2 separate regions of the Homo sapiens genome follow, and region 1 is linked to region 2. The links are contacts of gene promoters, found by promoter capture Hi-C in blood cells and fetal thymus (Javierre and others, 2016). All regions are on one chromosome and are shown on one strand. The core of a region is centred on a gene start or on the middle of the fragment in contact, and the rest is flanking DNA. Distances in the headings are between cores, read along the strand shown.

Region 1 (6,859 bases), core at 2,864-5,363, 130 kb before region 2:
AGGGACTGTCAGCCCAGCTAAGGAAGGCACTTTGTTCTCAGAATTCCCCAGGACACGGAGCCAACCAGAATCCAGGTTTGACAAACAGGAGGATCAACCTGTGGGGGGAAAATGAGTCCCTGTCCCAGTGGGGTGAAAGTAGATGAGTCCGCAGGGTATCTCTGCTACCCAGAAGCTTCCCGGATGCCACCCACAAGTACAGCAGACACATAGGTGGGCACTTGGCTCTGCTGGTATTTTGGGCATAGGTTGGCCCTCAAGGGCCTAAGGCATTGGAGGCTCCCAGCACGCTGGAGGCGGAGCCTGTGGTGCTCAGTGCCCTGAAAATCCCCCTGCCTTTCCCCCTGGGTCCCCATGGGCTGTCGTTGAAAGCCCAGTCTGAATCCCTTGAGCCCAATGCAGGGACGCAGGCATCCTCTCAGCTCCTGCACTGGGCCGTGCTGCCTTATGTGAGTAAACCTGCAGCCTCTTTGGGTTCTTCATTCCCTGTTTGAGAGGCTAACTAAGGTCAGGCAAACCCCACGAAGACCTGGAATTCTCTTTGCCTTAGTAGCACGATTGGAGCTTTGTATTTAGGGATAAAAACATTTTTTTTAAAGGATCTTAGAGGCCGGGTGCAGTGGCTCACGCCTGTAATCCCAGCACTTTGGGAGGCCGAGGTGGGTGGATTACCTGAGGTCAGGAGTTCGAGACCAGCCTGGCCAACATGGTGAAACCCCATCTCTACTAAAAATATAAAAACTAGCCCGGTGTTGTGGCGGGCACCTGTAATCTCAGCCGCTTGGGAGGCTGAGGCCAGAGAATCGCTTGAACCCAGGAGGTGGAAGTTGCAGTGAGCAGAGATTGCACCATTGCACTCCAGCCTGGGCGACAAGAGTGAGCAAAACTCCATCTCAAAAAAAAGGCTGGGTGCAGTGGCTCATGCCTATAATCCCAGCACTTTGGGAGGCCGAGGCAGGTGGATCACCTGAGGTCAGGAGTTCGAGAGCGGCATGACCAACATGGAGAAACCCCATCTCTACTAAAAATACAAAAATTAGCCAGGCATGGTGGTGCATGCCTGTAATCCCAGCTACTTGGGAGGCTGAGGCAGGAGAATCACTTGAACCCAGGAGGCAGAGGTTGCAATGAGCCAAGATCGTACCATTGCACTCCAGCCTGGGCAACAAGAATGAAACTCCGTCTCAAAAAAAAAAAAAAAAAGGCCGGGTGTGGTGGCTCATACCTGTAATCCCAGCACTTTGGGAGGCCGAGGTGGGCGGATCATGAGGTCAGAAGATCGCGACCATCCTGGCTAACACGGTTAAACCCTGTCTCTACTAAAAATACAAAAAAAATTAGCTGGGCATCATGGTGGGCGCCTGTAGTCCCAGCTACTCGGGAGGCTGAGACAGGAGAATGGTGTGAACCTGGGAGGCGGAGCTTGGAGTGAGCTGAGATCGCACCACTGCACTCCAGCCTGGGCGACAGAGCGAGACTCCATCTCAAAAAAAAAAAAAGGATCTTAGAGTGTAGATGAGAAGACAGCAGGGGCCGACACCTGCATGTGCATTCACCAGATGACCCCGCGCCCACCTCTGGCCATTTGTCCTTCCTGTGCTTTGCTTTTTTTTTTTTTTTTTAAATTGAGATGGAGTCTCACTCTGTCACCCAAGGTGGAGTACAGTGGCGCGATCTCAGCTCACTGCAACCTCTGCCTCCCAGGTTCAAGTGATTCTCCTGCCTCAGCCTCCTGATTAGCTGGGATTACAGGCGCACGCCACCATGCCCGGCTAAGTTTTGTATTTTTAGTAGAGACAGGGTTTCACCATGTTGGTCAGGCTGGTCTTGAACTCCTGACCTTGTGATCTACCTGTCTCGGCCTCCCAAAGTGCTGGGATTACAGGCATGAGCCACTGCGCCCGGCCCTTCCTGTGCTGTTCTTTGAGGTTGGTCTGTTTGCCGAGAGCAGAGGTGGCCATGGGTTTTGGTGGGTGAGTGGGGCTTTGTTGATTGTGTGTGCTCTCCAGGAGACCTTCAGCCCCACTCACCGGCCAGAGGAGCCTTTGCCAGAGTCCTGGGTGCCACTCATGCCCTGCTTTCAGTGGGTGTGGGTGTATAACTCTTGAGAGATGCCAGAGAGGTGGTGATGCTTTTCACCAAAGGGATCTAGGCTTTACAAAAATAAGGACTCCCTTGTGGATTTCTTTAACTGAAAGACTACCCCTGGTGCATTTGAAATTACTTAGGACATCTCCTGAAGTGTGATTATACCAAAACATGATTTCATGCTGGTTTCTTTTTTTTGAGACAGGGCTCAGGCTAGAGTGCAGTGGCACAATCACAGCTAACTATAGCCTCAAACTCCTGGGCTCAAGCAGTCTTCCACCTCAGCCTCTTGAGTAGCTGGGATTGCAGGCATGCAGCATCACATCTGACTAATTTTTTTATTTTTTGTAGAGATTGGGTCTTGCTGTGTGGCCCAGGCTGGTCTCAAGCTCCTGGGCTCAATGATCCTCCTCCTCGGCCTACTAAAGTGCTGGGATTATAGGCATGAGCCACTGTGCCCAGCCAATTTCATGTTTTTGAAAAATTTGTCAATTGTGGAATAAGTGGGTAAAAATCCTATTACAACAAATTGTACCAAGTCTTAGACTAACTAGAATAGGACCATTTCTGAGCCCCAGGAAGGGCTGTCGGAGGTGCTGCCCCACATCCAGGAGGCTCTGTGGTCTGGGCCACACCTTCAGGAGGATGTGCACCTACTGGGAGCCCCAGGCCATCTCTAATCTCACACTAGATTCTCCCACCCACAGATATGTGGTCTCCCTGATGAAGGCTGGATTTAGTCCTTGTTCTCAGCGAGGTGGGTATTGGCCCCACAATGGCCACAGTACACTGACCCCGTAACAGAGGAAATCTATAGCTCGTATAATTCATTTTCATGGCAAGTGGCTGCATTTGTTTTTGGCCTCACTTGGTCTGCTTCCCAGAATCCCTAAGAAGGGACCAAACTGCCAAGGTGGGAGGATCACTTAAGCCCAGGAGTTTGAGACCAGTGTAGGCAACACAGCAAGACCTCGTCTCTATATTTATTTAAAAATAAAAAAGCCAGGCGCGGTGGCTCACACCTGTAATCCAGCACTTTGGGAGGCCGAGGCAGGCAGATCACAAGGTCAGGAGATCGAGACCATCCTGGCTAACATGGTGAAACCCCATCTCTACTAAAAATCAAAAAATTAGCCAGGTGTGGTGGCGGGCGCCTATAGTCCCAGTTACTCGGGAGGCTGAGGCAGGAGAATGGCGTGAACCTGGGAGGCGGAGGTTGCAGTGAGCCGAGATCGCACCACTGCGCTCCAGCCTAGGTGAAAGAGCAAGACTCCATCTCAAAAAAAGAAAAAAAAAAAAAAAAAAAGTCCAGGCGCGGTGGCTTATGCCTGTAATCCCAGCACTTTGGGAGGCCAAGGCGGGTGGATCACCTGAGGTCAGGAGTTCAAGACCAGCCTGGCCAACATGGTGAAATCCCGTCTCTACTAAAAATACAAAAATTAGCTGGGCATGGTGTTGCACGCCTGTAATCCCAGCTACTTGGGAGGCTGAGGCAGGAAGACCTCTTGATCCCAAGAGACAGAGGCTACAGTGAGCAGAGATTGTGCCACTGCACTCCAGCCTGGGCAAGCGAGACTCCGTCTCAAAAAAAAAAAAAATACAAAAATTAGCTGAGCTTAGTGGCGCATGCCAGTAATCCCAGCTACTCAGGAGGCTGAGGCAGGAGAATCATTTGAACCTGGAGGATAGAGGTTGCAGTGAGCCAAGATCACGCCACTGCACTCCAGCCTGGGCGACAGAGTGAGACTGTCTCAGGAAAAAAAAAAAAAAAAAAAAAAAAGAAGGAACCAAAATGTAGTGATCAAACCCTTCCATTTTATAACTGGGAAAACTCAGGCCTCGTGACAAGGCAGAAAGACCCCAAATGGTAGAAAACAGCTGCTGCAACCCCTTGTGCTCTTGTCCTCACTGAGGGGCTGAAGTAGCTCTTAGAGCTAGAGGGGTGTTAGAGGTAACCCCGCTCCAGAGGACTGACTGTAGCCCAAGGCAAGAGAGGGAGTTTCCTGAGGAAGGACCCAGATGGTGACCTCAGGGTGGGTGAAGGAGGTATTCTTTGAATTTCTCTTGGAGTTGGGAGACTTGATATTGTCCGACCTAATCTGCAGTGCTGAATCCTGTCCCACAACTAAGGGGGACCAATTCTCATGTCCTTGATCCTCTTTGAAGCACCTTGGGCTTGTCTGTCCCACATCATCAGTGGCATTAAGCACAAGAGATACCATCTTAGCACAATCCTTTTACTCTAAATGTTCAGGGGAGGGGTATAGCAGCAAGGAGAGGGGGTCTCTGTGATGGCCCAAGGAGGTATTTTTGATACTGAAGACCCAGGCCCCCAGGGGAACTGCAGGAAGCGTCTAGCTCATAGGCATAGGCCTTTCAGTAAAGGTCACCCATCCAGGGATCCAGGATGTAGCTGGTTCCAGGTGATGAAATCTTCCCACCTTATGACTGGGGAATGTCAGGTCTAGTAGCAAAGCAAAGAGACCCCAGATGGCAAAAAAAAAAAAAAAAAAAAGAGCTGTGGCCAAAGTTCCCCCCTTGTTTGTATTAAGGGGCTTCCGTAGCCCATAGAGCTCTGGGTTCCTCACAGTGAGTGGAGTGGGGTGTGAGGCAGCCAGTGAGCTTCCAAGCCTCCCTCCCTGGCTGTGGGACCCTAAGTAGCCCAGAGCAGGGTAGGGTTGGAGGGAAGATCCAGTCCCCATGCTCTCTGTTTCAGGCTGGGCCTGGCAGGGCTGCCTATCCCTGTAACTTGGGGTGAGAGGGAGGCAGGACCTACAGTGCCCTTTTGCCCTATCCTTAGCGACCGGGACACACAGCTGGCACGGCTGATGCGGCGGAACAGCCTGAACCGCAAGGACGCAGAGGCCCGCATCAATGCCCAGCTGCCCCTGACAGACAAGGCCCGCATGGCCCGCCATGTCCTAGACAACTCGGGCGAGTGGAGTGTCACCAAACGCCAGGTCATCCTCTTGCACACTGAGCTGGAGCGCTCCCTGGAGTACCTGCCGCTGAGGTTTGGGGTCCTCACAGGGCTCGCTGCCATTGCCAGCCTCCTCTACCTGCTCACCCACTACCTTCTGCCTTACGCCTAGTGGGGCACTCAAGGCAGGGAGCCCCAGGCCTCCATCTATCTCCTTGGAGGCTGAAGCCAGGTAACACATCCTGTTTCCTCTCAGCCCCCTCCCCACACACACACACACACACACACACACACACACACACACACACACACACACACGGACTCTCCGAATCAGGGCTGGGCCTCTGTGCCAGGCCATCCCGTCTTTGGAGTGTATCCTATTTGAGATCAAGAAATAGCCTGCTGTCCTTCCCACCTTCCCTGAGCAGCACCTACAGAACAGCAACCGTGATGGTGTGTGAAAGCAACAGTCAGAGACTGCTATACATTTCTGTGGGTGGGGGTAGGGAATACTGGCTCTGTGGCCCTCCTCAGAGCTGGGAGGCCAAGGGTTCACTGGGCTTGAATCCTCTCTAAGCACCTACCCCATTGTGGCCTAAACCTCCTCAGTGGACCACGGGAAATCATGTTGGACCAAGGGTTTCCATGTTCAAACAGTCAACAAGGCCCTCCCCTAGGTTGAGATATTTTTTATACTGAAGGCCCAGGCCCCCCAGTATGGCTTGCTGCCAGCAAGCAGCAAGGATTCTCTCGTGGGTAACGCTGTAGCCAGGCAGGACCAGCCTCTTCTGGGAGACCCCTCTCCCCACGTAGGGTTTGTGTAGTGCTCCCACATCCTGCTTATTGCCTGCCACCCCTGCTTCTCGCCTGGACCTCTTGGTATTCCGTGTACACCATCCTTGCTGTTTCTTGCCTCTGTGCCTTCAACCTGCTGCTCCTGGCCTGGGATACCTTTTATTTTCTTTTATTTCTTCTTCCTTTTTTTTTTTTTTTTTTTTTTTAACCTACAACTAGCTCTCAGTTCAGGCACTGTCTAAAGCCCCAGGCTGGGTTAGGTGGTCTAGGATACCAACTCCCCCTCAACATTTTACCTTAATCCAACAGTACAGTAATTAGCCGAAACTTGCCTGGTTTTTCCTACTAGACTGTAAGCCCTCTAGGGACAGGGACAGTGTCTTATTCATCTCTGTGTTCTTAGTGCAGAGCCTGGCCCGCTGTTGGTGTTTAATAAAGTGTGTTGATCTGAAATGCCCCAGACCAACCAAGATTCCCAGACTTGGCTTCTTCCCACACTGGGCTGGAGTCCTCCCGGAGCTCAGGGGGAGGTGAGGGCCCCAGAAGGTGCACTTGCCATCAGGCTTCTCCCTGGGTCCCAGGAGGACTGCAGCCAGGCCCGAGGCACCTTTGTGGGAGGTGGGTAGAGGGCTGAGGCAGCGTCACACCTTCTTGCCCCGCCTCCCCATCTGCCTTCCCCAACCCAATTAGACCAGCGCAGACATAAGCCTTCCCTGCCAGGGCCTGCAGACTTGCTGATGTGTTGATCCTGCAGCCAGAAGCCTATTAAGGCTAGAAATGAGTGTGACGGATGCAAATGCTGTGGTGGCCATACTTAGTGCCCCCTTTCCCAGAGCCGCTTGTGCTGAGTCTAGCTCATTAACTTGCTGCAAACCCCTAAGGGGCAAAGAAGGGCCGGGTAAGGCAGTGGTGGGCTGCCAGGTGGGTGGCCAGGCAGGATGAGGGTGGCAGGAGCCTGCCACTTCCTCGGTTTGGTGCGATCCGCCAGGACGGAGAAAGGAGAGGGAAGGTATGGACCCCCACAGTGCCCTATCACCCCAATAATTGAGGAAATGG
Region 2 (7,020 bases), core at 2,251-4,750:
CTGAAAATTCCAAGTTGAGAAGGGAACCAGGTGTGGGTTTCTTATTATGGTCCTGCAGAACCCCCAAGACAACAACCAAAAAACTGCCTCCAGTGACCACTGGGACCTCTGAGGGTAGCTTGCCGCATCAGTCAACCTGGTACAGCTCCAGCAGCTCCTGCAGGAGCCTCTCCTCCTCCTGGAGCCCACCAGACTGCTCCTCCAGACCCTGCTCCTCCCAGCTGAGCCCCTCCTTCACGGATCTGGGGTTGCCCATGGCTTGCAGCTTCTGAAACAAGCCCTTGCAGCTCTCTCTCTCTGCCCGGCTCAGCAGGCTTAGGTTCAGGGTGAAGCGCCCAGTGCTCGCCAGGCTGCATAGGATCCCCAGCACCGCTGCCCGGTCAGCCGGCCCCACGTGATCAGCCAGTGCCACCAGCAGCTCCCCAAGAAGTCCAAATCCCACATCTGTCTGGAAGAGGCAGCCGAGCCTTGGACCCCCAAGCTGCAGTAGAGCCTGGTAGCGCTCTGGCCCACTTGGCAAGTGTCGTCGCCAATCACGATAGAAGTCAGCAGACGTCTCGGGCTGGAGGGGGGCTTTCTCCTGGACCACAAAGGAAGGAAAGGGAGTCAGGAGCTCTTCCAGCTGTTCTGCAACAGTGACAGGGAGGGGAGCCTGTAGCTCTTCATCTTACTGTCTTCATCTCACTACTGTCTGAGCACTGGGAAAGCTGTGGTCCTTGGCGGCCTCATTTTCAGATGAGGAAACTGGGGATGAAACAGGGAGGGCCCCAAGGAATCCACGCCATGATTTGAGATTCTCATTTATACTGGAATTTTCCTACTCATGAATGGAGACATAGCTCTGGTCTTCAAGAGTAAGTCAGGGTTTACTGTAAGTCGGGTGGATGGGTTGATTGGAAATCTCAGGAAGAGAGAAAGGAACTCAAGGATCTGAATGTTGGGGTCTCTCTCTCAACACTGCCACAGGATCATTACACTAGACACCATACAACCCAGAGGCAGAGCATCCCAATTCTGATCTGAGAATGAAAGTCAAAGGACTAAGGGAAGCCGACCTTCCTAGCCCAACTTTCTGACTCATTCTGCCCACTTCAACTCAGCTTTGCCATCTGCTGTTTGTTTTTCTTTCTGGGATTGGAGGCAGAAACCTATCTCTGTTGGTTTAACATGACAAATAAAGAAGAGGTATGTGTGGTTAAAAAAACAAAACAAAACAAAACAAAATGAAAAAACAGGATTGAAGCTTTAGGGCAGAGAATCCTGCTGGACTAAAGGGGCAGGGCCTCACCTACCGGGGAGATTTCAGTGGCCACATCCTGGAAGGTCCTTCCCTGAATAGTGTGACAGTTCCAGGGCACAGTTCTCTTTCCTCCCATCTTATCCTTCCGCTCCAGTGGCTTCAGATGTGATGCAAGGACAATACCCCTGTAGGCAAAGGACAGAAATTAGGCAATGGACTTAATGCTGTGTCTGTGGGTGTGAGGCAGCTAGACTTTGCATGGTATAGGATAAACCTGTTACGGACCAATATGACCATAATAATAACAACAGCGATAGCTGACTGCTTTCAAGCACCTCACATGTGTCAGACACTTGCTCAGTCTTATGTGCAAGAACTCATTTAATTATAACAGTTACTGTTCTACAGATAAATAATTGAGACTCAGAGAAGTTAAGGAAATTGCATAAGATCAAACAGTAGACGGTGGGGCCAGGACTGAAGCCCAGAATGGTTTGATTTCAGAGTTAACTACTATAATCCACCATAACAGGAGGGCCTGAGAAAAATGGCAGTGAGCCAACCTGAACTCCTCATAGGAAGCCACCCTCTGTTCCACTGCCCGTAACTTGGCAGCATTCTCCCGTTTGTACTTCTCATCAGCAGTGAGTGCAGCCTGCAGCTCTTTCTCCAAAGCCTTGAAGTTGATGATGTCATTCCTTTCCATGGCCTGTGCCTGGGAAGGCAAAGGGAATACATGTCAGTGGACAGTCAATATCAGGGGAAAGAGGGTACCTCTGAATTATTCACCAGAACACAAAATGACCCCAAAGCACTCTGGACATCATGTCACTCAGATTGGGAGGTGTTACAAAAATCTGGTTTTCTATTTTACAAAGACAAGTTGAATTTCACAGTGAGGACTTACACAAGACTTGTCCCTGAAAATAGAATACAGAGTCCTGACTTTCAATTTGGAGTTCTGTCTTAATTTTGCTCTTTGCCTCTAAAAATATTTTTAATTTTGGTGCTTCAGTCGAGGAGGCATTGGGATCTCAGAATTCAGTTTCTTCACTCTTCCCCCATAGGATTGTTCTACAGCAAGTCGTTTCGACAGGGGACCTCACACAAAGGCAGAACTCTTGTTAGTTACCCTTGAGCTCGGGGATAAAGTTTCATTCTTCATTGAATGTCTTTAATGAGGAAGGAGACTTTCACCCAAACCAGATGCAATGACTGAGCAGGAAATCAAGTAGAAGGGGCAAAGGAAGGAGCTCAATGACCCCATCCCCAAATCCCTCTGTCCAGCCCAGGGCTGGAACAGAGGTCCCTAGGTACCTGGGCAATGCCTTTAGTTCTATCACTGTACTTCTGTAGTTTCTGCATATCTGAGGCTGACTGATCATTTCTACAGAGATATTCTTTTCTTTTTTTTTTTTTCTGGCTCTGTTGCCCAGGCTGGAGTGCAGTGGCGCGATCTTGGCTCATTGCAACCTCTGCCTCCGGGGTTCAAGCAATTTTCGATCCTGACCTCAAGTAATCCGCGCGCCTCGGCCTCCCAAAGTGCTGGGATTACAGGCGTGAGCCACTGCAGAGAGATTCTCTACGTGGGTTCTAGTCGTGGCTCTGGCATTTACTTGTGGGACCTCTCTGAACTGCAAACTCCTAGTGAGTTGAGCTAGATTTTGTGGCGGGGTCATCACCAACAGCCCTAGCGCAAGGAAGCAGGAAGTCCCCAACCAATCCCATAGCCACCCTACCCCAACGTAGGGAATCTGAACGCCAAGAAGGGGCTGGGGTGGCCAGTAACCGAAATCAGGTGTCCAGTTCTCAGCCCTCCCCAGGCATTTAATACATAGAACTAACCCTTCCGTCCCCTTACTCAGCCTCCCGGACCTTCACCCCAGCAGTCCCGGCCTTGGTCCCCTTGCTTTCTTTGGGGATCCCCTGATAAACCAGAACAGGAGGGCAACCCCGCGCAGACCACGCCCGCAGCTGTGGTTGCCTAGCAACTGCGCTAACAGCCTGACCACGTGATCTGCCCGAAGGCCCCTCCCCCCATTTTCAGGGTGGTCCCGAGGCGCCTGATCAGATTCGTTCATCCTCAGCTCTCACCCTCTTTGGAGCAGCCCACGTCTTGGGCTACTCGTCTTGGGGACCCGCTACTCCGCCTTGCCAGTCCGCGGCGGGCATACCTCGGAACTGGTCCTCAGGCAGAGGGTTGTCCTCCCGGGCAGAAAGGCGACAGCGGCGTCTGCGGGGTCCTTCCTGGCGGCGGGCGCAGGCGTTTCCTCGGCGTGGGGCGGAAGCACGATCTCCGGCAGCGGCCTGGGAACTCTTAGCTGAGCAGGCGAGAGGTAAGTTGAAGCGGGTCAGCGGCACGGAAGGGTTGCTCCAGGTGGGATAGGAAATTAAAAAGCGTCAGATCTGGAAGGGGCCTTATATGCTATTGGCCCCTTTCGCTTTACGGATCGGTAAATTGAGGCCTGGAGCGGGAAAAAGAATGGAAGACCCTGTCGTCCTCGTGCCTTCCCAAGGCTTCCGAAGCGCGCACACACGCACACACCTCGATTTCGGGGCTGCCTCTATAGCCTCAGTCCGTAAAATCGTATCGCTAGGTAGGAGTGGTGCTCTAACTGTCCAGTCCCCTCGCTCACTTCCTCTTCTATCCGTGCCGCTTTCAGCCGTTCTTTGCCAAGTTCCCTCCGAAGTCCTCTGAGCTCCTGCATTGTAGCGGGAAGCGGCAGTGAGGTTTGTTACCATGAGTCGCTAGTTTTGTGTAACTGTGGGCAAATCAGCTATATTCTGTGTACCTTGTTAGAGTCATTCATTAGTTCAGTAAATACTTATTGAGGGCTTAGTCTATGCTAGGCACAGTACTAAGTGAACAAAGTCTTTGCTTCAATTGTAGTTGGGGAAATGAACAGTAAACAACTAGATACAAGTCAGCTAGTGATAAATGTATAACATTTGTGAATAGCAATAAAACAGTGAAAGTGGGAAGTTGGAGAGTATGTATGGGGGACTTTTTAGAGTGACAGAGAAGATGACATTTTAGTGGAGACTTGATTGAAATAAAGGAACAAGGTGAAAAATATCAAAGGGGAGAGCGTTTTGGACAAAGAGAAAGGCAAGTGCAGTGGCCCTGAGGCAGAAATGAGCTTGGCTTGTTCCATGAACAGCTTTCTATAACAGTTTCTTCAATCGGCCGGGCGCGGTGGCTCACGCCTGTAATCCCAGCACTTTGGGAGAAAGACGCGGGCGGATCACCTGAGGTCAGGAGTTCGAGACCAGCCTGGCCAACATGGTGAAAACCCATCTCTACTAAGAATACAAAAAAATTAGCCAGGCGTAGTGGTGCACTCCTGTAGTCCCAACTACTCGGGAGGCTGAGGCAGGAGAATCGCTTGAAACCAGGAGGCGGAGGTTGCAGTGAACTGAGATCGTGCCGTTGTACTCCAGCCTGGGCAACAAGAGCAAAACTCTGTCTCAAAAAATATATATAAAATAAATAAATAATTTCTTCAATCCCTTGACTGGGGTCTTGGGAGAATGAGATAAGCATAAATGCGATAGTAGCTTTTTAGAAGTAAAAAGAATATGCATGTGAAAGTTTCCATAATAATTTACATTTAATTATTGGTCCTTGGAGCTCCAATTCTCTCTCTACATTCAGCACCCAGCAGGTGGCATTGAGGGAGTTGGAGGTATCAGTCTAATCCAAGAAATATCAGCATCTTAAAATTAAACATCCCATTCAGTTAACATTTATCCAGTTCCTACTTATGCAAGGTGCTGTCTTGGCTATTGGCTGTGTTAGCATTGGTACTTTTTTCTCAATTATTTAAAAATGTAAAATGTGGCCGGGTGCGGTGGCTCACACCTGTAATCTCAGCACTTTGGGAGGCCGAGGTGGGCTAATCACCTGAGGTCAAGAGTTCGAGACTGCCTGGCCAACATGGTTGAAACCCCGTCTCTACTAAAAATACAAAAATTAGCCAAGTGTGATGGCGGGTGCCTGTAATCCCAGCTACTTGGGAGGTTGAGGCAGGAGAATCGCTTGAACCTGTGAGGCGGAGGTTGCAGTGAGTCGAGATCGTGCCACTGCACTCCAGCCTAGGCAACAGAGCGGGACTCCGTCTCAAAAAAATAAAAAAATAAAAATGTAAAATGCATTCTTAGCTGGAGGACCATGCAAAAACAGTTGGAGGGGCCAGATTTGGCCACAGGTCAGAGTTTGTCAACTCTTGCTCTAAAGTATTAGGAGGTGAAGAGGCATTGTGTCAGCAGCATACTGTCAAATATTTGGGGAAAAGAAAGTTATTTGTACTGTTCTTGCCACTTTTTGGTATTATTTTAAAATTAAATTTAGTATCATAAAAGAAGTGAAGAGAAGAAGCAGGTGCATGGAACACAGGGTTCTCATGATCAAGGATGGCAAAAAATAATGCTAGCTAACGTTTATTGAGCCTAGGACTCTGGTAAATTCTTTTTTTTTTTTTTTTTTTTTGAGACGGAGTCTCTCTCTGTCACCCAGGCTGGAGTGCAGTGGCGCTGTCTCCGCTCACTGCAAGCTCCGCCTCCTGGGTTCACACCATTCTCCTGCCTCAGCCTCCCCAGTAGCTGGGACTACGGGCGCCCACCACCACACTTGGCTAATTTTTTGTATTTTTAGTAGAGACAGGGTTTCACCGTGTTAGCCAGGATGGTCTCGATCTCCTGACCTCGTGATCCACCCACCTCAGCCTCCCAAAGTGCTGGGATTACAGGCGTGAGCCACTGCACCCAGCTGGACTCTGGTAAATTCTTTACACAGGGTGTTTTATTTAATCCTCATAACCATTTATTCAGTGAGGATTATTCATTCCATTTTCCAGTTGAAGAATAGGAATCAGGTTGGAAGAGATGAAGTAACTTACCTCAAGTTACATAGTTGTTGGTGACAAAGTTGGGATTTGAATCTAAGTCTTCCAACTCCAGAGCCCTGATGCTCTAGTCTGTTATTTATTGCTTATAAACTATAGTTGGTGATGGTAATTAGTAACTACTATTTGTTTATTTATTTTGTTTATTTTTTTCGAGACGGAGTCTCACTCTGTCAGCCAGGCTGAAGTGCAGTGGTGCGATCTCAGCTCACTGCAACCTCTGCCTCCTGGATTCAAGTGATTCTCCTGCCTCAGCCTGCTGAGTAGCTGGGACTACAGGTGTGTGCCACCACACCTGGCTAATTTTTTGTATTTTTAGTAGAGACGGGGTTTCACTGTGTTAGCCAGGATGGTCTCTATCTCCTGACCTCATGATCCGCCCATCTTGGCCTGCCAAAGTGCTGGGATTACAGGCATGAGCCACTGTGCCCAGCCAGTTAACTACTATTTAAGACAAAATTAAATACTGATAAAGGTGCAAAAAGCTCTAGTAGGATAGAGGAATGAGAAATTGAGGAGCTAGGAAAGCTTGAAGGAGGTGGTGGCATTTGAACTGTTTCTTTGAATAGAATTTCAGTAATTGAAGTGGAGAAAACCCACAAAACACTACTTAATTACAAAGGGAAAATGAGTAACTTTACAATGGAGAGGCCTGGCAAACATCACCTTAATGAAGTGATCAAAGTTAACGTTACCACTAATGGGGCAAATTGAAATCATGTATCACCTGATACGAAATGCATTGAGAAGAACACAGCATCACTTCTATGATATTCCTGCCCAAAACGCATAACCTGAATATTATCATAAGGTAACATCAGACAACCTCAAATCAAGGGACATCCTTAAGGATTTCATGACAGTCCTTGGAAGGAA

What was found. Contacts are between HindIII fragments. The CHiCAGO score rates a contact against its expected background, and 5 or more counts as called.
Region 1: a contact is called between a fragment that was not itself captured here and the fragment with the promoter of EFTUD2 in region 2, in 10 of 17 cell types (endothelial precursors, M0 macrophages, naive CD4 T cells and 7 more). The highest score is 7.1, in endothelial precursors.

The regions. Positions count from the first base shown.
Region 1 is chr17:45,022,754-45,029,612 of GRCh38, reverse strand. DCAKD (dephospho-CoA kinase domain containing) reads left to right here. Exons shown (of 5, transcript NM_001288655.2): 5 at 4,889-6,269. The coding sequence ends at 5,180. Among named protein-coding and RNA genes, the nearest start is that of DCAKD, 25 kb to the left of the region's middle. The HindIII fragment of the contact is 7,872 bases long and covers 178-6,859 here.
Region 2 is chr17:44,895,925-44,902,944 of GRCh38, reverse strand. EFTUD2 (elongation factor Tu GTP binding domain containing 2) reads left to right here and starts at 3,500. Exons shown (of 28, transcript NM_004247.4): 1 at 3,500-3,576. It overlaps DNAAF19 (dynein axonemal assembly factor 19), which reads right to left and starts at 3,216. Exons shown (of 4, transcript NM_213607.3): 1 at 3,086-3,216; 2 at 1,804-1,955; 3 at 1,293-1,425; 4 at 1-580. The coding sequence starts at 1,946. The coding sequence ends at 128. The HindIII fragment of the contact is 5,429 bases long and covers 1,246-6,674 here.